Linked DNA regions of Homo sapiens: regions 1, 2, 4 and 5 are each linked to region 3. The links are contacts of gene promoters, found by promoter capture Hi-C in blood cells and fetal thymus (Javierre and others, 2016). All regions are on one chromosome and are shown on one strand. Each heading gives the region's core, a stretch centred on a gene start or on the middle of the fragment in contact. The rest is flanking DNA. Distances are from core to core; before and after follow the strand shown. Region 1 overlaps CAPN11 (calpain 11). Region 2 has its middle 2.9 kb from the start of SPATS1. Region 3 holds the start of HSP90AB1 (heat shock protein 90 alpha family class B member 1). Region 4 overlaps TMEM63B (transmembrane protein 63B). Region 5 overlaps TMEM63B (transmembrane protein 63B).

Region 1 (4,209 bases), core at 1,358-3,857, 64 kb after region 3:
TGAGCACACATTTGGACAAGGGAGGGGAAGGGGTTCTTATCCCTGATGCACGTGGCCCCTGCTGCTGTGTCGTTCCCCTATTGGCTAGGGTTAGACCGCACAGGCTAAACTAATTCTGATTGACTAATTTAAAGAGACTGACAGGGTGAGTGCTTTGGTGGGAGTCAGGGCAGAGCAGGTAGCAGGTGATTGGAATAAATTAGGGTGGAGCAGGTGATCGGAATGAGTCAGGGTGGAATAGGTAATTGAAAAGGTTGCTTTACGAGGAAGTGAAGTTTAAAAATAGAAGGCAAAGAATTGAACATACTGACATATTAATTCTTTGAAAAGAAATTTAGAACTCATATCTAACAATCCCTCCCCTTGTATTTCCTTACAGCTTTCTTTTCATACTTTTTTTTTTTTTAACATGTCTTGACTTAGTTGCTTTGCTTGATTTTCTAAAAGAAGAAGCTTCTCTGGATAAGGTGGAGGATAGTTAAGGGAGGTTTTAGTAAGTGGACAGGCAACAAATTTCTAACAATAATAATAATGATTTGAATCTGAACACCTTTAAGGCAGGAACGAGTTCACCTATTGCCACAGTCCTCAGCCTTCCCAGTCCCACACGAGGAGGATTTGTTCATTTATTTATTTAAATTGTTTTTGAGACAGAGTCTTGCTCTGTCACCCAGGCTGGAGTGAAGTGGTATGATCTTGTCTCACTGCAACCTCCACCCCCCAGGTTCAAGCAGTTCTCCTGCCTCAGCCTCCCAAGTAGCTGGGATTATAGGCGCGTGCCACTACGGCCAGCTAAGTTTTGTATTTTTAGCAGAGACGGAGTTTTGCCATGTTGGCCAGGGTGGTCTCAAACTCCTGACCTCAGGTGATCCACCTGCGTTGGCCTCCCAGAGTGCTGGGATTACAGGCGTGAGCCACCGCGCCCGGCAGTTCGTTCATTTATGTGACCTGCTGGCTGCAGGTGTCAGATTTTTAACCTTCGAGGCTCCTGCAGTGCCACCTTTGGGGACCCCAGTTTGAAGCAGCAGATGAGAGTCCTGGAGCCCTGGCTCAGCCCCCGTAGAAGCGCTCCACCATAGGGCACACCACACAGTTCTTCACAGGGAGGGACTTGTGTGCTTAGCATCTGGCACTGCCCATAAACGCCAACTATGGCCTCTAGTTATTGTGACAACTGCACATTTCTATATGCTCCCTATCACCCTTGGCTGAGAGCTACCCAATCCTTTGGTCCTGGGTAAGTGACTTCCACCCTTGCCAGTCTTTTCTTGGCATAAAAACACAGAGACATGGAAGCCAATGGCATGTGCTATTTATTAGAATAGTATCCACAGATGGGGAGGAAAACAGAGGCTGTGCCAGGATGGGTGGTCAGCAGGTAGGTGTGAGCAGGACAGCAAGCATGGAGGGTAAGAAACGGGCTACAAGTCCCTTCCCTATTCTTGGCCTCCCCAGCCAGGGGGACCCTGGGGAAGCATCAACTACTCTTTAGTAAAATATACTCTGAGAGAGCGATGGTGGGGGAAAGCCAGCCATCAGAAGCCGGGTTGGGGAAAAAAGAGAAAGCCTCTGAGCTGGGGGAGTGGGCACGGAGGTCCCACTGCTGCAGTAAACACGGCACCTGGGACCCGGGCACTGCCACCTGGAGCCCATTTCATCAGCAGAGACCGGAGAGCTGAGGGCTACAAGAAGCACCCCACCCTCCTGGGCTAGAACCTCGCTGCTGCTGCTGCTGGTAGAGATGACCAGGCTCCTACAGCGCCTCTATCCCCACATGGTCATCTGCAGCCACTGTGGAGACAGGAAGCAGATCCCAGGGTGGGAAGAGACGGGGGCAGGATGCTGGCCCGGGGACATCAGAGCTGGGTGGGGGTGGGGTTGAGGGGCAGGCAGGTGCAATCCTGCAGATTCCTTCCCACCCTTCTCCAAGTACCTGTTCCAGGCTCAAGCAAATATGGCCAGTATTCTTGGGGTCCATGGTTAGAAAGAATGCTGCGTTACAGAGGAAGCGGGGGAGAGGGGCTGAATGCTAAGTCAGTGTTCCGAAAGAACCACTCCCAACTAGGTAGGAAGGGGCGACACCAGGTGTTCCTGGCTGTTCCCCACATAAATCCCCTAGCCAAGTGGGGAATTAATGATAGCAACTCACATAGCCTCACCAGGAGCCAGGCCCAGTTCTGATTGCCTTCCATAGACTAACTGGTTTAACCTGCACCTCAGTCCTTTGAGGGCAGTACTATTATTATCCACATTCTAAAGAGGAGGGAATGGAGGCACAGAAAGATTAAGTGACTTGCTCAAGTCACCTCTGCCAGCAAGTGGCGGAGCTGGGCTTTGAATCCATTTCATGTGTGCCTTGTAAGGGGGAGGGGATCTGGAGCAGCACCCATCAGGGTGGGTGTTTGGGAAAGGGCCCGCGGCCCCTGGCCTAGGCTGGGGAGTGGGTAGATGCCTAACTCACTGAACATGGTCTTTAGCCTCAGGAAACAGCTGATGAAGCTGTCAAAGTCTATGATCAGGTCATCATCTGCATACCTGGCCACCAGGACCTGCATTACCTTGTTGTTCAGCTTGATGCCTGAGAGAGGGAGAGAGAAGTGGGGAGGGGAAAAGTCTGGGCCTCTGGACACTGCCATCCTCTTCCCTGCCCCAAGGCCCACTCCTGACCCTTGGCCACCTGCTTTCTCAATAACCAGGCGCATCTCATAGGAGTTCAAGGTGCCTGAATGGTCCTGGTCACACTCTCTGAAGATGTCCTGAAGAGACAGACAGATATGGTAGGGCCACATGCATGGCATGGTGGTTGAAATAATGAAATACTGAGGCCGGGCGCGGTGGCTCATGCCTGTAATCCCAGCACTTTGAAAGGCCGAGGCAGGCGGATCATCTGAGGTCAGGAGTTTGAGACCAGCCTGGCCAACATGACGAAACCCCGTCTCTAATAAAACTACAAAAATTAGCTGGGTGTGGTGGTGCATGCCTGTAATCCCAGCTAGTCAGGAGGCTGAGGCAGGAGGCGGAGGTTACAGTAAGCAGAGATCGCACCACTGCACTCCAGCCTGGGCAACAGAGTGAGATTCCGTCTCAAAAAAAAGAAAAAGAAATACTTTAGGACAGTTGGCTCACAGCAGTGGCCTAAGACCCCATGCCCCCCTCCAACCCTGGCCCACTCCTGATATTCCTATCATCTGGTGACCTAAGGGTTAATTCCAAGCATGGGTTGTCGGGGGCACTGGTGCCCTGCCCAGCGCTCTTTGTGTGCATCCTTCATGACTAGATGATACCTGAGCTATACTTGTTATAAAATATTTTGACTGGGTAATATGCCACACTCCAACAGACCCTTTTCATGTGTGTGTGTGGTGTGGTTGTGTCTGTATGTGAGTGTGTGTGTGTGTGTGTGTGTGTGTGGTGTGGTTGTGTCTGTATGTGTGTGTGTGTGTGGTGTGGTTGTGTCTGTATGTGAGTGTGTATGTGTGTGTGTGAGTGTGGTGTGGTTGTGTCTGTATGTGAGTGTGTATGTGTGTGTGAGTGTGGTGTGGTTGTGTCTGTATGTGAGTGTGTATGTGTGTGTGTGTGTGGTGTGGTTGTGTCTGTATGTGAGTGTGTATGTGTGTGTGTGTGTGGTGTGGTTGTGTCTGTATGTGTGTGTGTGGTGTGGTTGTGTCTGTATGTGAGTGTGTATGTGTGTGTGTGAGTGTGGTGTGGTTGTGTCTGTATGTGAGTGTGTATGTGTGTGTGTGAGTGTGGTGTGGTTGTGTCTGTATGTGAGTGTGTATGTGTGTGTGAGTGTGGTGTGGTTGTGTCTGTATGTGAGTGTGTATGTGTGTGTGTGGTGTGGTTGTGTCTGTATGTGAGTGTGTGTGTGTGTGGTGTGGTTGTGTCTGTATGTGAGTGTGTATGTGTGTGTGTGGTGTGGTTGTGTCTGTATGTGAGTGTGTATGTGTGTGTGTGAGTGTGGTGTGGTTGTGTCTGTGAGTGTGTGTGTGTGTGAGTGTGGTGTGGTTGTGTCTGTATGTGAGTATGTGTGTGTGAGTGTGGTGTGGTTGTGTCTGTATGTGAGTGTGTATGTGTGTGTGTGAGTGTGGTGTGGTTGTGTCTGTATGTGAGTGTGTATGTGTGGTGTGGTTGTGTCTGTATGTGAGTGTGTGTGTGTGTGAGTGTGGTGTGGTTGTGTCTGTATGTGAGTGTGTGTGTGTGTGTGTGGTG
Region 2 (4,158 bases), core at 1,565-4,064, 92 kb before region 3:
TCTGATCCTGGTCGTTGGCTAGGCTAAGCTAGGCTGTTCATGCTTGGGGTCTCTCACAGGGTCTCAGTCAGAGGTCACAGAGGAGCTTCCTCACTCATGTGTCTGGTGATTGATGCTGGTTGTCAGTTGAGGTCAGCAGGGTTAGCGCCAGTTCACCCATGTGTGGCGTTTCCATGTGCTTTCTCACACCAGTGTCTGAGTTTCCAACGTGAGCATCCCAGGAGGACCAGGCAGAAGTTGTATTGCCTCCATAGTCACAAATGCATGGAGAGGGAACTTAGATCACACCTCTCCATCATGGTCATACTGTATGAAGAGCACAGGGGACAGGGGATCTTGTGGCCCTCCTAGAAAATACAATCTCCCCTACTGATATTTAGGGGTTATTCCTTGTCCTTTTTCTATGCACATGTATGTCATATACCCCTAGTGATTTACACCCCTGCTGATATTTAGGGGCTCCTTCCTCTCTACCCTTTTTCTGTGCACAAATATGTTAACATATTATAGATAGATAGATAGATAGATAGATAGATAGATAGATAGATAGATATAGATATAGATATCTCTTGTATTGGGCTTTTAAAATTTAAGATTATAGTTGATGGCTGGGGCTGTGGCTCACGCCCATAATCCCATAATCCCAGCACTTTGGGAGGCCGAGGTGGGTGGATCACTTGAGATCAGGAGTTCAAGACCAGCCTGGCCGTCATGATGAAACCCGTCTCTACTAAAAATACAAAAAAAAAAAAATTAGCCAGGCGTGGTGGCAGGCACCTGTAATCCCAGTTATTTGGGGTGCTGAAGGAGAACTGCTTGAACCCGGGGGGCAGAGGTTGCAGTGAACTGAGATCATGCCACTGCACTCCATCCTGGACAAGAGAGTGAGACTCCATCTCAAAAAAAAAAAAAAAAAGTTGGCCCTCCATATCTGAGGGTTTTGGATCCACAGATATGACCAACTACAGATTAAAAATATTCAAAAAATATATAAAAATTTAAAATAATACAGATAAAAACAGCAAAGTATAGCAACAATTTACATAGCATTTACATTGCTTTAGGTATTATAAATAATCTAGGGATGATTTGAAGTACCGTACAGGAGGATTTGCATAAGTTATATGCAAATACTATGCCATTTTGTAAAAGGGACTTGAACATCCTTGATATGCTCAAGATTTTGGTGTGGGAGGGGAGTCCTAGAACAAATCCCCCAGGGATACAGAAGGATGGCTGCATATCCTGAGCATTTCCCCTTATTGAAGTTAAAAAAACATGTTATCTCTTTATCCCACGGTAGGAGAGGTAACAGTTATTTAATAGAAATGTTAGCTGGGCAACAGCATAGTTAGTTATTAATGGCTTGACTCAAGAGGCTGCCTCACCAGGAAGGCAGAGATTTTTGTCTATTTTGTCCACTGCTGTATGCCAAGCAACTAGCACAGTGCCTGGCACATATAAATGCTCAATAACCATTTATTTAATGAATGAATAAATGAGTGAGTGGGTGGGTGGGTGGATGGATGATTACAATGGTCTGAGCTGAGCCCCTCCCTCTCTTGCTTGCATCCTCCTAGGAGGAAAGAGTCCAGGTTTCTAACCTGAACCACCAGGTTCCAAGACATCAAGATCTATCTGTTGGTCAGGTGATTTTGCAAGGCAGGCGAGTGAATCACAGAAGGGAAACTTTCTCATCCTTAGTGAGTCCTGTGAACTGTGACTCACAAGCCTTCCCTTACTCTGCAGCTTAAAACCTCCCAGGCCACCTTGCCCTCACTCCTTGGGCAAGTTTTAGATGCCTGTCGCACCAGGCCTGCCCTGGCAGCTGTGCCCAAGGTTTGGCGAGGCACTGGAGCCAGCTAAAGTGTTCTCAAGGCCGTGGAGCTGCCTCTGATCAGCTTGGCCCCAACGCACAGCCAGTGTTTTCCCAGGATTGGCACCTGAAGCTTCCTGTGCACAGCAGCCCCACAACCAGAGTTCAGCAGCAGAGGCGAGGGGAGGATGCTAGATGTCCCCAGAAGACTGAGGTTCCTGAAGGTCCCAGAAAATCTTGCCTGTATAGCCGGGAGGGTGAGCACAGTTGGGCAAGAAGAAGGCCTTCCTCAGTGTTCCCTTGCCGTCCCCTGTCTGAGCACCCCAAACCAAGCCCAGCCTGGAGGTTACTGCAGCACCTGTGCAGGAACATGGAGGCCTGATGCAGGGAGGGGCGGTGGTCCCAGGTCCTTAAGGTCAACTCAACTGTTTCTCCAGCTTTAGGGCCCTCCTTTCAGCTTTACAGTCCGGGATCCTGATGTTCCACAAGCCTGGCTCTCCTGGGTCTGAATGAGCTCAGGAAACCTGGGGCTCCAGGCCAACACAAACACGCACAGGGTTTACGTGTGAAGTTTTCCACTGAACTATATAAAATTTCTGGTTATGTAGGTGAAACATAGTTGCATATCAGCAAATTTATGTTATTCAACTTAATCATGAAGGACAAATACTTCTAGCAGGTTTCATGGTGAGGCCAGAGGAGGGTGGGCTGAACTTTAACCCCCTCCCTTCCCCTTTGCTCCTTCTCCCTGAAGGACCCCACTTCGCTTTCAGTAGCTGGGAGCTTGTCTCTGGGAAGGAATGATAGACAGTGAGGCGGGGGTGGAAGCAGGGGGCCAGGCACTGGATAGGAACCGTTGGTTCTGGTTCTCCCCTGGCTCCCCCAACCCCAGACCCTTGAGAGCAGCTGGGGCAGCCATAAGAATCAAGAGCCCAGAGATTAGAGGAAACCAGACAGCAGAGGGAGAAAGATAAACTCAAATAAACTCTACCCCATTCCTCTTGAGTCTTGGCAGGACAAAAAGTGCCTGCTGGAGAAAGAAACTTGAGCCTAGAAGGATGGTATTATTTAATTGCCTAGGGTCAGAGACATTGGTAAAAAAAAAAAAAAAGCCTCGAGTTTGGTAAGCCTCAAGAGCTACAAGCTAAACTGGGTGAGGAGGGCGTCTTAAACACCACTTCTCCTCGAAAGAGCACTGCAGGCTGTCCCTATAGGGGAGCCTCTCTTCCCCAATGTCAAGGAAAGGTCACCCAGCAGAAGCCCTCATTTAACGCGCGTGTCCCATAAGTGTGCACCAGAGGGCAGTATAAACCCAGGTATGGAAAACGGGATGCGCTCATAGATTGTCTACAGTTGACTTCAAGTAAGGGGCATCACAGAGCCTTGTATAAAGACAGCGCTAGGGAAATAGGTGTTGAGTGGATTACTGACACACGGCCACCGTCAGAACCCTTCAATGGTAGGCAGAAGAAGCCTGGCAAAGATAGGGGAGAGAGAGCATTTGCTACCTCAGAACTGACTAACATGGCCAGCTCCCAAATAGCCAGAGGGCCTCCCCATCAGTTCAGGCCAGGAAACAATGACCAGACACCTGCTATGTTCCAGGCACTGTGCTAGGTACAAGAATTTAAAGGTGAGTAAAACACAGTCCTTTCCCTGACTGAGTTCCCCTGATAGCTTTGCCCATCTCTTTACATTTGTTTATCTCATTTAATCCCAACCACAGTGAAGTGCTAGTAGAATCATCCTCTGTTTACAAATGAGGAAAGACAGACTCAGAAGGCAGAAGTAACTCATCCCACCACCGTAACTGGCAAAGCTGGAGTTTAAATCCAGTCTCTTTAGATTCAGAGCCTAAGCTTTCACCACTGTGCCAGAGCCTTCTTATATGTGCCCTCAGCAATGAGCAGGTCCGTTTGTCATCTCAGTACTGGCCAGGCTGTCAGGGCTACATCCTAGGCTGCCAGACCGCCTGGGAGAGGCCTGGGAGGACGCTTGTCCCAGAAACACAAAAGTCCCTTTGGACTTGGATTTCTGAGTAACATAAATCAATGACTAAGATTTTAAAATGTGTGTAACCTATGTAATATATAAAACAGACATGCAGAGTAAGGACAGCAGCTTCTGTGAGTGGAATGCCTATACTCTACAGAACAGGAAAGGAAAAGGCTGAATTACGTGAGGTTGAAGTGGAATTCCTTCAATATGAGGTTTAACCCAATATGGACTAGGAAGTCACTGCAGATCTCTCATCAGAGGAATGATGAGGCAAAAATGGCATATGCTGCCCATCCTTGTATCCCTCCCAGGTCCACTCCCACTGTCTCCACCTTGTTTTGTGC
Region 3 (3,857 bases), core at 62-2,561:
AATATTCTTCAACCAAATGTCACAGAACCCACCTACTTAAAGAATGGTGACCAGCAGCCTCAGCATCATCTGGTAGTATGGCAGAAAAATCATAATGTTGGTCCAACCCAGGTATCTAGAGATCCCAAGTAATCCTTACACAAATTTAAATGTGAAAATCACTACCTACAGTTCTTTATTTGGGGGAGATCAAAGTGACTAGTTTAAGATAAAAATGGCACTAACTTTAAACTGCTCCCCCTGAGGTGTCAGTTCCTAAGACCAGTCCAAGGGCGGGACACTCCTGCCCCATAGGGCAGGGAGGAATAACCTGGGATCCATACGATACCCACCGGAGGAGCAATTAAATCCGGACAAAGAATTCTTAAGCCAAAAGCTCCACCACGACCCTTTCACAGCACAAAATTACAGAACAGGACCAAACCCAAGAAAGATGGTGGCCGTAGCCACCAGGCCGACACTCGTCACTGCCGGACATGCGTCGGCCAGGACCACGCGAGGAGGGGGCGCCGCAGTGCACCCTCCCTCGCCCCAGCATCCGGGCACTGGGGCGGGGCGCCAGAATCCAGAAGCTTCCAGAACAATCTCAGCTCTCGAGGAAGGGCGGAGGAAGGAGCCCATGAATCTTCCAGAACCTGCTCCCCTCCCCGCCCCTCCTCCACCGGGACTGCAAGAAAGATCTGGAAGGAGGGAGTATCGGGTGCTGGAGACCGAAAGCTCTCTTCCCACACCGTCAACCCTCCCTCACAGAAACAAAGCACCCAAGAAGGCTTTAACAACGCGTCCGATAAGAGAGGTGACAAAGCCAGTCCCACAAGGCCGTGCTGAGTCACCCGAGCGGGCACCCCCGCCACCCTGCGGTCCCCCTCCGACGCCCCGTAGCCGCGTCCGGAAGTGGAGGGGCAAAAATGGCAGCGTCCCGGGCCGCGCGGCCACCACGTGCAGCTGCCAGCCGCCCACTGCCCCAACCCCACAGCCCACCTCGCTACGGCCAGCAGGCGCCGAGAGAAAGCCCCACCCCCCAAACACACTAGAGAAAACCGAGGAGGACTCAAAAAACCTCACCCACCACTACCCTCACCCTATAAAAATCCAGAGCGTTATCCACAAGCCACCCCGACATCTAGACTAAGGCTCCCTAAAGGACAGAAAAAAACAAAAACAACACGAATACAGCACTAAAGGGAAAGAAGCCTAGCGGAGATCTCAGCCTTACCTTGAAAAGAAAAGGATTATACGTAATAGTGAGCAACGTAGGCTTGCTTTCCGATACCCAGACAGTCCCAACACTGCGCCGGAGTGACTCGAGAGAGCTACTGCGTGCCCCAAGTCGCCCTATATAAGGCGAAGCACAGTACAGCCGCCCTCCTGTAGATCCCTCCGCCTTAAAGGAGTATGATTGTCAACCCCGCACCTGCCGCCACCAGCCCACCTTGACGTCATGGTCCGAAAAAAAGAGGGGGCGGGGAAGAACCCAAGCAACGGATCCGCCCACACATTTGCTTGTGATCACAGCCCCATAGTTTCACGTCTAGGACATGACTCCATCAAGAGCGGGGATGAGGAGTGCTCATTTGGCATAAACGGTGTCTCTACGGGCGAGGAACCCACTGACCTCCCTAAACACTTGTGGGGCAGGCGTCCCCACACCCAAGGGCGGGACTGGGGGGGACACCGAAAAAGAGCGGAGGCAGCTAACCACGCGGACCACCGCTCCCAGACCCAATCTTCTTCCTAGCATCTGCCCTACACATCTCGCGTCCCGACAGAGGGACTGGCATTCGGGACCCAACCTTGGGTAGCCCCAGATCCCGACTCTCGCAGGAGTAGAGGAAGGGCGGAGGGTTCGCGCTGAGGGGCAGCTCAGCGTAGGGGGAGGGCGCCGGCCGGGGCTGGCGGGGACTCTTTGCCGACATGCGGCGGAAGGCGCGGCGGCGGCACTGCGGCATTTCCAGCAGTTTCCAGGCCTGTCTCGGCGGTCCCGCCCCCTCCCCGCGAGGCTCCGCCTCTCCGGCTGCGGCCGGGGCAGGGTTTTTGCAGCGACCCCACCCGGCGACCCGCTCTGACCTGTCCGAGAGACGCGGGTACCAGCCCAATCCTCAGGGATGGGATGGAGGGTTGGGGAGGGATCGGCTGACCCCTCCTTCCCCGCGTCAATCACACAACACCCAGGCACCTGGGGCGGCTCTGCGGGCGTACACTTTTGCAGACTGAGAGTGGAGTACCTGCGGGGGGGACCCCCCTCTAGCCCCTGCGGCCGCCACGTACACGGAGCACGGGGACATGCGCCCTCCCTACGCAGGCACGTCAAGCCCTTTCTCAAGCTGGTTCGCTTTTTTTCCGCCCACTTCGCTCCTGCAGCCATTTGGACCTGGGAAGGAGGGAGTCTCTGGGAACCAGTGCAGGGCAGCCGGAGCTCTTGGAGGCCGCGTGACGATGCCGGCCACAGAGCGGCTGGCCAAGTTGTTCCCCTTCAGCCTTGGCACCAGAGCCCCTAGGCCATGCCCCTGGCCAGTGAGCTGCCGTGTCTGGCCTGGCTCAGCCGTTTTGCCTGCCCTCCAGTTGGCAAGCTGTCCTTGCCTTTCCAAGGCCTCATCCGAAAGCCTGCTGGACCCACAACCCCTCCAGGAGAGAATAGCCACTCCCTGCTCTGTGCCCTGTAGATGTCCATCTGCTCCCCTTCCTGGCCCACCCCTGGGATGCTTGGGAAGAGTTTCCCCACAGCCACCCACATCGTCCTCCCTCACCAGCCCTGTTGTTACCCAGTCTACGATTCGTTAACAAGTTTTGTTCATGTGTTGAATACCAAAGAACAAAGGGTGTCCCTTGCTTTCCTCTTCTTTGTCCCTGTCCACTTCGCCATGCCTGCCATCACCATCCCGATTGGATATCCTTTCTCCCTTTCATTATGGTCTGCAAAAAGCCTATGGCTGGGAGAAGTCTATAAGAAGGGGCGTTGGGTGCTCTATTCCTGACCAAAACCGCAAACCAGTGGGAGCGTGATCCCTTAACGTGTCCTCTCCTTCTAAGCAGAGCTCATTAAAAATCTGCTCCCCAGTTCACAGAGAGCATTCACAAACTCTCACTCTCCTGTGAGCGGATGAAAGTCAGTGTGCACATTCTGTCAACAGGGAAGTGGCTTCAGTGACTCCCAAGGCCCGTCTACTCAGAGTCCTTGCTGCACTAGCTCCCTTTCTGCTCCAGAAATGGAGCAGGGATGTGATCTCACCCCTAGGACCTAAATCCAAAGCAGGAATCACTCCTGTGGATGGGCTTCCCCTGAGCTGGATCCTTTCTGTGTCAAGACTCGACGGCTTCCTGAAGACTTTCTAAATGGGAAAATCTCAAATGTTACACCAGCATAGAAATTCCACTTTCTCTGCTGGGCACAGTGGCTCATACCTGTAATCCCAGCACTTTGGAAGGCCGAGGTGGGTGGATCACCCGAGGTCAGTAGTTCACAACCAGCCTGGCCAACATGGTGAAAAACCTCGTCTCTACTAAAAATTAGCTGGGCGTGGTGGCACATGCCTGTAATCCCAGCTACTTGGGAGGCTGAGGCAGGAAGATTGCTTGAACTCTGGAGGCAGAGGCTGCAGTGAGCTGAGACCATGCCATTGCACTCCAGCCTGGGCAACAAAAGAGAAACTCCGTCTCAAAAAAAAAAAAAAAAAAAAAAGGGGGCTGGGCGCGGTGGCTCATGCCTGTAATTCCAGCACTTTGGGAGGCCGAGTCCAGCGGATCACCAGGTCAGGAGTTCAAGACCAGCCTGGCCACTCTGGTGAAACCTTGTCTCTACTAAAAATACAAAAATTAGCCGGGCGTGGTAGCGCGCCTATAGTCCCCGCTACTTGGGA
Region 4 (4,046 bases), core at 501-3,000, 110 kb after region 3:
GAACTCAGTCTAGATGCCAGGCCTGGACTGGGGAGGCTGGTTTCATTAAGCTGGAAGGTATCTGTGATTTTCTAACATCTATCTAAATCCCCCCTGCCGCCGCCACCCCCACACTCTCATTCTCTCTGTCTTAGGGCAGGGGGCGGAGCTGAGCCTGGGAAGACAGGGAGGGGTCTTAGGCCTGAGGACTCAAGGGTAAGATGAGGGGTCTCCACGTCAGGGGAGAATGGGTCAGGAGCCAGCTGCCTCATCCTGATCTTTTCTTTCTATGCCTATTAGAAAAAATGGCATGATTTCATTTGGTTAGAGTTTTGAACTCAATATAACTGGCTTAGGTTCGACGATGGGTCAGAGTAGGAAGTCAAGTAAATAGTAGGACTTCTGGGTTTGAGTTACCTGCCTGGCCCCAGCCACTCCTGCTTATTCTCATTTCTCTTCCCCATACCATAGTCCTCTCTCCAGTTATTTGCACAGGGATCGCCTGAGTGTTATGAGCACTACAACTCCCAGAGTGCCATGCTCCTGCCTCTGAAGCAGGGAAGGCTGGGAAAGCTATGCCCTACGGCAAGCTTTTCCACTGGCAAAGGAGGGGGGAGTGGGTGGGGGCCTCTTAGCCTGCCTGGGCAGCCAGGGTGCTGCCTGGTTGCCTGCAACTGGCCGGCTGCATTGATGCTCAGAGTGGATGGGGTGGGCAGGAGGAGAAAAGGGACAGCCAGCCTGAGTGCCTGGGTTCTCAAAGTGCTTGGGGACAGAGCAGAGTGGGGCCCTGGGGAGGATCCCAGGATAGCGGAGAAGTGTGGCCTCAACAGATGCAGCACTGCCCCACCCATTTTACTGGGGGGTCCCTGGGGGACCCTTCTGCTGACAACACTGAAGCTCTGCCTCGGGGGCGGGCTGTGGAGCAGGGGAGGAGGTCCTCAGGGAAGAAAAAGGAAAACCAAAGAGAACAACAAAACTAGAAACAGTGACTGCAACTTCGGGAGCAGCATCCCTTAGCCCCCAGGGGGACTCAGAGGGTTTCTCCTGCCTCTTCCTAACACTTCAACCACAGGGCAAGAGGCAGAAGCCCTCAGATGGAGGGGAGGATGGAGTTGTTTATGTGTTTCACTTGGTCCCAGGGAGTCTCTGCAAAGCCTGGATTAGGAAGACTAAAGGAGTGTGTGCTGGTGTGTTATGCCTCTTCCTTTTCCAGTCCAAGCTGCCTTTAAAAACACACTAATTTAGTAATTGTATTGGGTACCATTTGTCCAGTGCCCTCAGTTTCAAGAATAATATATTACATGATTTCATTTAATCCTCGACGATCCTGAATTGAGTGTCACTGACATTTTAGGGTGGGGGCACAGGGCCTCAGAGGTTAAGTAACTTTCCCAAGGTCACACTGCTAATAAAATGAGGGACCTAGGACTCAAACCTAGCTCACCTTCTTTCTAAAGCTAGAATGATTTTCAGGGCACCACGGTGCTTTTCTGATGTTCCTAGAACAGGACTCGGCAGACCATGGAAGCTTTATAAATGCTCATTAAATGTTCTCAGGCCAGAGAACCTGTGGGTGCTGTGGAAATGTGTGTGTCCAGGTATGTAAATGTGTGTTGATGTGTGGACCTGTGTCCAGGAGGAGCTAGGTGACTGCATGGCAGTCCACGGAAATGAAGGGAGTTGTTGGCTTCGAAGTGGGGGTGTGAACATGGGTGTGTCTGGGAGCCCGGGTATGTAAACATAAGATGCACAGAACCCTGGGGCACTATGGGAGGTTAAAGGTAGGTATAGGTATCTTGGGTTGGGGGGACTCTAACTAGTCCCCCTTTCTCAATTCTCAACTCCAATGTACTCCAGCAATCTCAACACTCTATTCCCACCCCTTGCCTGTTTCTCTCTCTGAATTCCAAGGCTCCATCAGATCAGAATGAAATGAGAACAAGCCCCAGAGTACCATTCCTATCAACTCCTGTCTTCTCCACACCAAAGAAAGGTAGAGCATTTTGGAAGCTTCTACATGAAGTGGCCCCAGCAGGGTGGACAGGATCTAGCTAGATGGTTAGTAACTGAAATCACCATGCTCCTCTGCTGTCCGCCTCCTTGGGGTCACAAAGTACTCTCCCCTCCACAACAGCATTAATCTTCCCACCTGCATGGGAGGAAGGCAGGGCACACTCAGATCACTATCCCCATTTTACAGGGAGGAAGCAGGAACCCAGTAGGGGAAGCAACTTGCACAGTGACAGGACAGGTAAGGGGTGGAGCCTGGGCTGGCAGCTCTGCCAGTTGACAGGGCTGCTCCAAGCTTTTAATTGTGGGGGTGGGGTTGCTGGGTTGAGTTTCATCAAGGGCAGCTGCTCTCAAAGCCAGCACTGGGCTGAGCAACTGAGAAGAGGGAAGACATTGAGGCAGAATACCTTGGGGATGGGAGGTGGCAGTTCTTCCACTCCACGAGGTGCCTGCACCAGCTATATCCCAGTTTCTCTAGTCTGATATTGAGGTTTTGGTTGAGGTGTGTCCAGAGAGTGATGGAGCATTTTACTTCTAGCTAACTTTTTAATTTTACCATTAAGGAGTGTGTGCATGGTGGGGGTTGGAGAGCTATAACTTATAAGCTTTTTTTTGGGGGGGTTGTTGTGTATTTTTTTGAGACGGAGTCTCGCTCTGTCACCAGAGTGGAGTGCAGTGGCGCGATCTTGGCTCACTGCAACCTCTGCCTCCTGGGTTCAAGGGATTCTCCTGCCTCAGCCTCCTGAGTAGCTGGGACTACAGACACATGCCACCACGCCCAGCTAATTTTTGTATTTTCAGTAGAGACAGGGTTTCACCATGTTGGCCAGGATGGTCTCGATCTCTTGACCTCATGATCTGCCCACCTCGGCCTCCCAAAGTGCTGGGATTACAGGAGTGATATAAGCTTTTTCAGTGGAGTTACTGGGCAAGATTTAAGTTAGGGCTTTGGATCAAAGCAAGGCCATGTGGTCTGAGGGGAGGAGGGGAAGATGGAAGCGAGCTCTGTTACTACGAAACCTGAGTCTCAGTCTTCCAATCTGTAACAAAGAGATACAAATATCCTTACTCTACCCCTACCCACTTCAGAGAGAAAGGCAAGAATATATCCACAAGTGAGCATAAAAGTAGTAGTAGGTGCCAGGCACGGTGGCTCACACCTGTAATCCCAGCATTTTGGGAGGCCGAGCTGGGCAGATCACAGGGTCAGGAGTTCGAGACCAGCCTGGCCAACACAGTGAAACCCCGTCTCTACTAAAAAAATACAAAAATTAGCTGGGTGTGGTGGCATGCGTCTGTAGTCCCAGCTACTCGGGAGGCTGAGGCAGGAGAATCACTTGAACCCAGGAGGCAGAGGTTGCAGTGACCTTAGATCATGCCACTGCACTCCAGCCTGGGCGACAGAGTGAGACTCCATCTCAAAAAAAAAAGTAGTAGTAGGCAGGGTGGGGTGGCTCACCCCTGTAATCTCAGCACTTTTGAAGGCCAAGTGGGGAAGATACCTTGAGCCTAGGAGTTGGAGGCTGCAGTCAGCCATGATCATGCCACTGCACTCCAGCCTGGGCAAGAGAGCAAAACCTTGTCTCGAGGGGAAAAAAAAAAAAAAGCCAGGCATGGTGGCTCACACCTGTAATCCCAGCACTTTGGGAGGCTGTGGTGGGAGAATCACGTCAGCCCAGGAGTTCGAGACCAGCTTGGGCAACATAGCAAAACCCCGTCTCTACAAAAGATACCCCCCACCACCAAAATTTAGCTGGGCATGCTGGTGCATGTCTGTAGTCCCAGCTACTCCGGAAGCTGAGGTGCGAAGATCACCTGAGCCCAGGGAGTTCCAGGCTGCAGTGAACCAAGATCATGCCACTGCACTCCATCCTGGGCGACAGACAGAGACCGTGTCTAAAAAAAAAAAGGAAAGAAAAAAGAAAAACAGAAAAAGAAAAAAAAGTAGTAAAATAATAGTATTAAATGTTTATTTAACTCTTCTTTTGTGCCAAGCACTGTTCTAAGCACTTTACAAATGTAACTCATTTGCTCCCCATCACAACCCCAGGAGGACA
Region 5 (4,113 bases), core at 564-3,063, 98 kb after region 3:
CCCAAAAATATGGGCTCTAGAGACCTTCAGGGATACCCCTAGTAGCCTCCAAGACACTCCCTAAGTATCACCAAGACCTCCCTAGAGATGGTTCCCCAAACCTCCCAAGTGGAACTCCAGAGACGCCCACAGTTAGTCCCAGAATATGGGCACAAGACACCCCCATAGAAACTACCAGAATGTGGAGCCCCAAGCCCCAAATATACCTTGAGGATGATCTTAGCATCCAAACAGGTTACCAGAGAGTGAACACCAACACAGACCCCAGGGACTTCTACCATGTATACACACCCAAGACACCTTGTGGGTGCCTTTGGGGTAACCCCGCCAGATCCTCTCTCTTCTGCCCCCTCCAGGAGTTGGAAGCTTTGTTGCACCCTCCCATGGGGCTGGCAATGTCTCTCAAGCATACCCACCCCTGCTGTCTGGTCTCTTTCCCTAGGGGCCCCAGTCACTCACTCAAACCGAATAGCTGCCTCAGCCAAGAATTTCTTATCAAAGAGCCAGCGGAAGAAGAGGTCCAGGCTGGAGGGAAGCAGAGGAGAGATGGGGTGGGAGCTGGAGTGGTACAGAACACCAGGGGAGGGGAAGTCCCTCCTCTGTGAGCCACTGGGGAGACTCCCAGACATGGGGTGGGTAGCTCAGGAGGCCTGGGGGTGGCCAGGCTTCCCATCTTGGGCCCCTTGCTTTGTAGGGGAGGTAGGGAGGCTGAACTGCTCTCCTCTCCCTATCCTGCTGTCCCCCTACCCTGGCTCCTGCCCCATCCTTCTCAACTCACCTGCTCAGTCCCAGCGAGGGTAGGAGCAGCACCATGAAGATGAGGAAAGTGTAGCACTTGTGCATGGTTGTCCTGTTCTCCCCAGAGCTGGAGGGAGGGGAGCAGGGAACGGTACAGGTCAAGTGAGCCCAGGCCCCAGACTTGCTCCCCCAACAAGGACAATGTCCAAGGAGTGTCCCCTGGGAAGGGTGGGCCTCCCAAGGTGAGGGTGCTGGGCACTACCCCTTCCCTACCAGCTGTGGGACTGCCCAGGGCCAGGAGCCTGAAGGGCAAAGTGCTGCCCAGAGAGGATGGGTCATTGAGGGCAGGCCACAGCGAGGTGTGGTGTGAGTGGAGGCACCTTACCGTGTCCAGTGGGCTTCAAAGAAGGCTGAGTAGTAGACGATGGTGGGAAGGAGGGCCGAGAAGCACCACAGCAGCAGGGTGGGGAAGAACTGGGTGATGATGGGGTTCTGCAGCAGGGCACAGGGGGGCGTCAGGCAGGGCAGTCTAGGGGGCCCAGGTGGCTTTGCTTATGTGCCTCCTCCCCAGCTGGGCCCTTGGCCTCACAACTCTCAGGGCTCCCATGTTGGAAGCCCAGAACATCCGGAGGGCTGGGGTGAGGGTGGGGGCCAGGGCCATATGTATAACCCCAGGGTGGATAATACTGATAGTCAGCATTTGCTGAACATCTACTATGTTCTAAGCAGTGCTGATGTACTTGCCATGTCTTAATCCTCACAATAATGCTGTTACCCCATTTGACAGATGAGTAAACTGAGGCAAAAAAAAGATTCAATAGCTTCCCTAGCTAGCAAGCCATGAGGTAGGGATTTGAATCCATGCAGTCTGGGTCTTATCTATTATGGTATTATCACTCCAAGTGATTTGCAAACTGTCCTTCTTCAAACTCTGAGGTTCTAAAGAGGTATGCTCTATGCGTGGGAGGAGAGGTGAGGGGAGGCCAGGCAGACATGCATGCCACCCTACTGTCATCGGAGCAGCCCTGCTTTTCCACACTGGGTTTCACACCGATAAAGAGATCAGAATCCAAGTCCAAAGCCACTGATCTAGTTGAACCTTTCCATTTTTTCAGTTAGACTGAGGGGTGAGGGAAGGGGACTTCTCTGAGATCAGGACTAAATGCAGGCTCTCTCTCTTCCCTGGGTGTTTCTCCAGGTGTTGCACACCTGAGGGTGGCCTCTCTCAGGGGGAAGGTGGCAGGGAGCCCAAGGGAAGTGCACACAGGGGTTTTTGGGAGCTGGTTGGTGGCACGGGGTTGGAACAAGCAGAACGGGCTGGGCTGGGCAAGTGGAAGAGGGATCAGGGCCTGGTATCTGTGTGTTGTGACCCAGCGTGGAAAGTGACAGGGGCATGAGGCCTCACGTTGAGGTACTCCACAGGCTTGGTGACGTTGAACTTGTCCATGGTGGTGATGATGATGGCTGGAGTGGTGAGGAAGAAGAGGAGGATGAAGAGGACGACATTGATGACCAGGCAGCGCAGCCACCAGATGAAGCCTCGGATGGAGAGGTGCTCCCTGGCAAGGTGGGGAACCGGTCAGTCCAGGAACCAAGGGCAGGATTGGCCCCCAGTGACACCAAGACACTCCCTCTCCTCCGCCTACCTACTGAGCCCATCCCAGGCCCTGGAAAGCCTGCCCTGACACCTGTTTGCTCACCAGTAGATGTTCTGAGGGTCAGGGGCATAGGACACGGTCCAGTTGGAGATGTGCAGGGACTCGCTGCAGGATGAGGGGCGTGGCTCCCCACGGCAGGTGCAGCCCTGGCATTTACACACGTTGAAGTCCTTCAGGATGCTAGAAAGATGGGCACTGGTTACCACAGGCCCACCTGGAGGCCACACTGCTGGCAGAAGGCCATGAGCACAGGGGTCAGGGAGCCCTGGAGGGCTGCTCAGGGCCGAGGGCCGAGTTGGGGACTCACATGGCGGTGATAGTCTCATTGTGGAAGGTGACAAAGGCCATGCCAAGAGGCTTCTCATTCACCTTCTCCTTCTCCCGCTTGTAGTCTTCCTTCAGCTTCTGCTCCAGCTTTGTGTAGTACTCAATGGCCTCCACCTTTGTGGGAGGGTTAGGGACAGGGCCTCTAGTTGGAAAGCCAGGCTGGGGCCTGCAGCATCCAGCCCACGCTGACTTGGGGCTTCCTACAAGCCAGGCACTGCTCCTCTAAGCATTTTTTTTTTTTTGGAAACAGCGTCTCGCTCTGATGCCCAGGCTGGAGTGTAGTGGTGGAATCTCAGCTCACTGGAGCCTCAAGCTCCCAGGCTAAAGTGACCCTCCCACCTCAGCCTCCCAAGTGGCTGGGAATACATGTGTGCAGTACCATGCCTGGCTAATTTTTGTATTTTTTGTAGAGATCAGGTTTTGCCATGTTTCCCAGGCTGGTCTCAAACTCCTGGCTCAAGTGATCCACCTGCTTCAGCCTCACAAAGTGCTGGGATTACAGGCATATGCCACCGCACCCAGCACCTCTAAGCTTCTTTATATGTATTACTCACTTTACCCTCACAACACTCTCATAAGGTGGGTACGTTAACCCCATGAGGAAACTGAGGCACTGAGCAGTAAGCAACTTGCTCAAGTCCCCAGAGTCAGTGGGTACAGCACAACATTGTCCTTTTGGCTGACATTTTCTAATTTGAGGTTTGAAAACCTGGTCACTGTAGGGACATTAGACAAACCCAACAGTGGGAACTGAGGCTTCAAGGATTCCAGGGACAGGTGGGGACTCACTGAGGGCAGGGCCCCAGCCTTGCCTGCCCAGGACCTGTCCAACTTCTCCCGACTCAACAGCCAGCCCGCGTCATACCTGCTCACAGCCTCGCACCACACAGCAGCAGAGGTGGCCACAGGGCTTGGGGTTGATCATGGTAGGCACGTTCTCCTTGCTCTGGAGGTTTGTGAAGTACAGCTTTCCCCGCTCGGCCTTCTTCCTGTGGGACCCAGATGCCTGGTCACCTACATCTGGGGCTGGGGCTGGCTCAGCTTGGGGGTCATCTAGCTCACTCCCCAAGGACAGGAGCTGTCTTGTTCTTGTTTAGGATACATGTTTCAGATGTGGCCACATCCCAAGGTCTCCCCACCCATCCCTAGAGGGCCAGAAGTTCTTCCTGCAGGCTGACCTAAATTTCTCATACTGTAGCCAAAGAAGGGCATGTCCTCAGATGCAGTGGGGACCATGGGCCCCCCTTCCCCTCACAACAAACTCTAACCTCCAGGCCTTGCTCTTTCCAGAGCTGAATTAACAGGCACACCAACGAGTTGAATTAAAATCAAATGCCCTAGGAAAAAATCTAGAAGGGGAGCCTGTGTGGTAGCCAAGATGTCCTCCACA

The links. The method cuts DNA at HindIII sites, captures the fragments that hold promoters and counts their contacts. A CHiCAGO score of 5 or more calls a contact.
Region 1: a contact is called between a fragment that was not itself captured here and the fragment with the promoter of HSP90AB1 in region 3, in 1 of 17 cell types (fetal thymus). The highest score is 5.1, in fetal thymus.
Region 2: a contact is called between a fragment that was not itself captured here and the fragment with the promoter of HSP90AB1 in region 3, in 4 of 17 cell types (M0 macrophages, M2 macrophages, M1 macrophages and 1 more). The highest score is 6.4, in M0 macrophages.
Region 4: a fragment that was not itself captured here is called in contact with the fragment with the promoter of HSP90AB1 in region 3 in 1 of 17 cell types (fetal thymus); the score reaches 6.7 in fetal thymus.
Region 5: a contact is called between a fragment that was not itself captured here and the fragment with the promoter of HSP90AB1 in region 3, in 1 of 17 cell types (fetal thymus). The highest score is 5.2, in fetal thymus.

Annotation. Positions count from the first base shown.
Region 1 is chr6:44,181,488-44,185,696 of GRCh38, reverse strand. CAPN11 (calpain 11) reads right to left here. Exons shown (of 23, transcript NM_007058.4): 20 at 2,678-2,756; 21 at 2,462-2,578; 22 at 1,934-1,992; 23 at 1,296-1,791. The coding sequence ends at 1,765. Among named protein-coding and RNA genes, the nearest start is that of CAPN11, 25 kb to the right of the region's middle. The HindIII fragment of the contact is 4,304 bases long and covers 456-4,209 here.
Region 2 is chr6:44,337,662-44,341,819 of GRCh38, reverse strand. No RefSeq gene overlaps it. Among named protein-coding and RNA genes, the nearest start is that of SPATS1, 2.9 kb to the left of the region's middle. The HindIII fragment of the contact is 1,726 bases long and covers 1,952-3,677 here.
Region 3 is chr6:44,244,555-44,248,411 of GRCh38, reverse strand. HSP90AB1 (heat shock protein 90 alpha family class B member 1) reads right to left here and starts at 1,311. Exons shown (of 12, transcript NM_007355.4): 1 at 1,217-1,311. RefSeq lists enhancers at 212-261, 746-1,500, 2,255-3,009 and a silencer at 1,812-2,051. The HindIII fragment of the contact is 5,727 bases long and covers 575-3,857 here.
Region 4 is chr6:44,130,299-44,134,344 of GRCh38, reverse strand. The region is part of intron 1 of TMEM63B (transmembrane protein 63B); the gene reads right to left. Among named protein-coding and RNA genes, the nearest start is that of TMEM63B, 4.8 kb to the right of the region's middle. RefSeq lists enhancers at 1-214, 623-792, 215-1,180 and a silencer at 3,025-3,184. The HindIII fragment of the contact is 482 bases long and covers 1,510-1,991 here.
Region 5 is chr6:44,146,976-44,151,088 of GRCh38, reverse strand. TMEM63B (transmembrane protein 63B) reads right to left here. Exons shown (of 24, transcript NM_018426.3): 12 at 3,589-3,712; 13 at 2,704-2,837; 14 at 2,439-2,576; 15 at 2,144-2,297; 16 at 1,124-1,230; 17 at 779-865; 18 at 460-525. Among named protein-coding and RNA genes, the nearest start is that of CAPN11, 9.8 kb to the left of the region's middle. RefSeq lists an enhancer at 1,750-1,919. The HindIII fragment of the contact is 2,889 bases long and covers 369-3,257 here.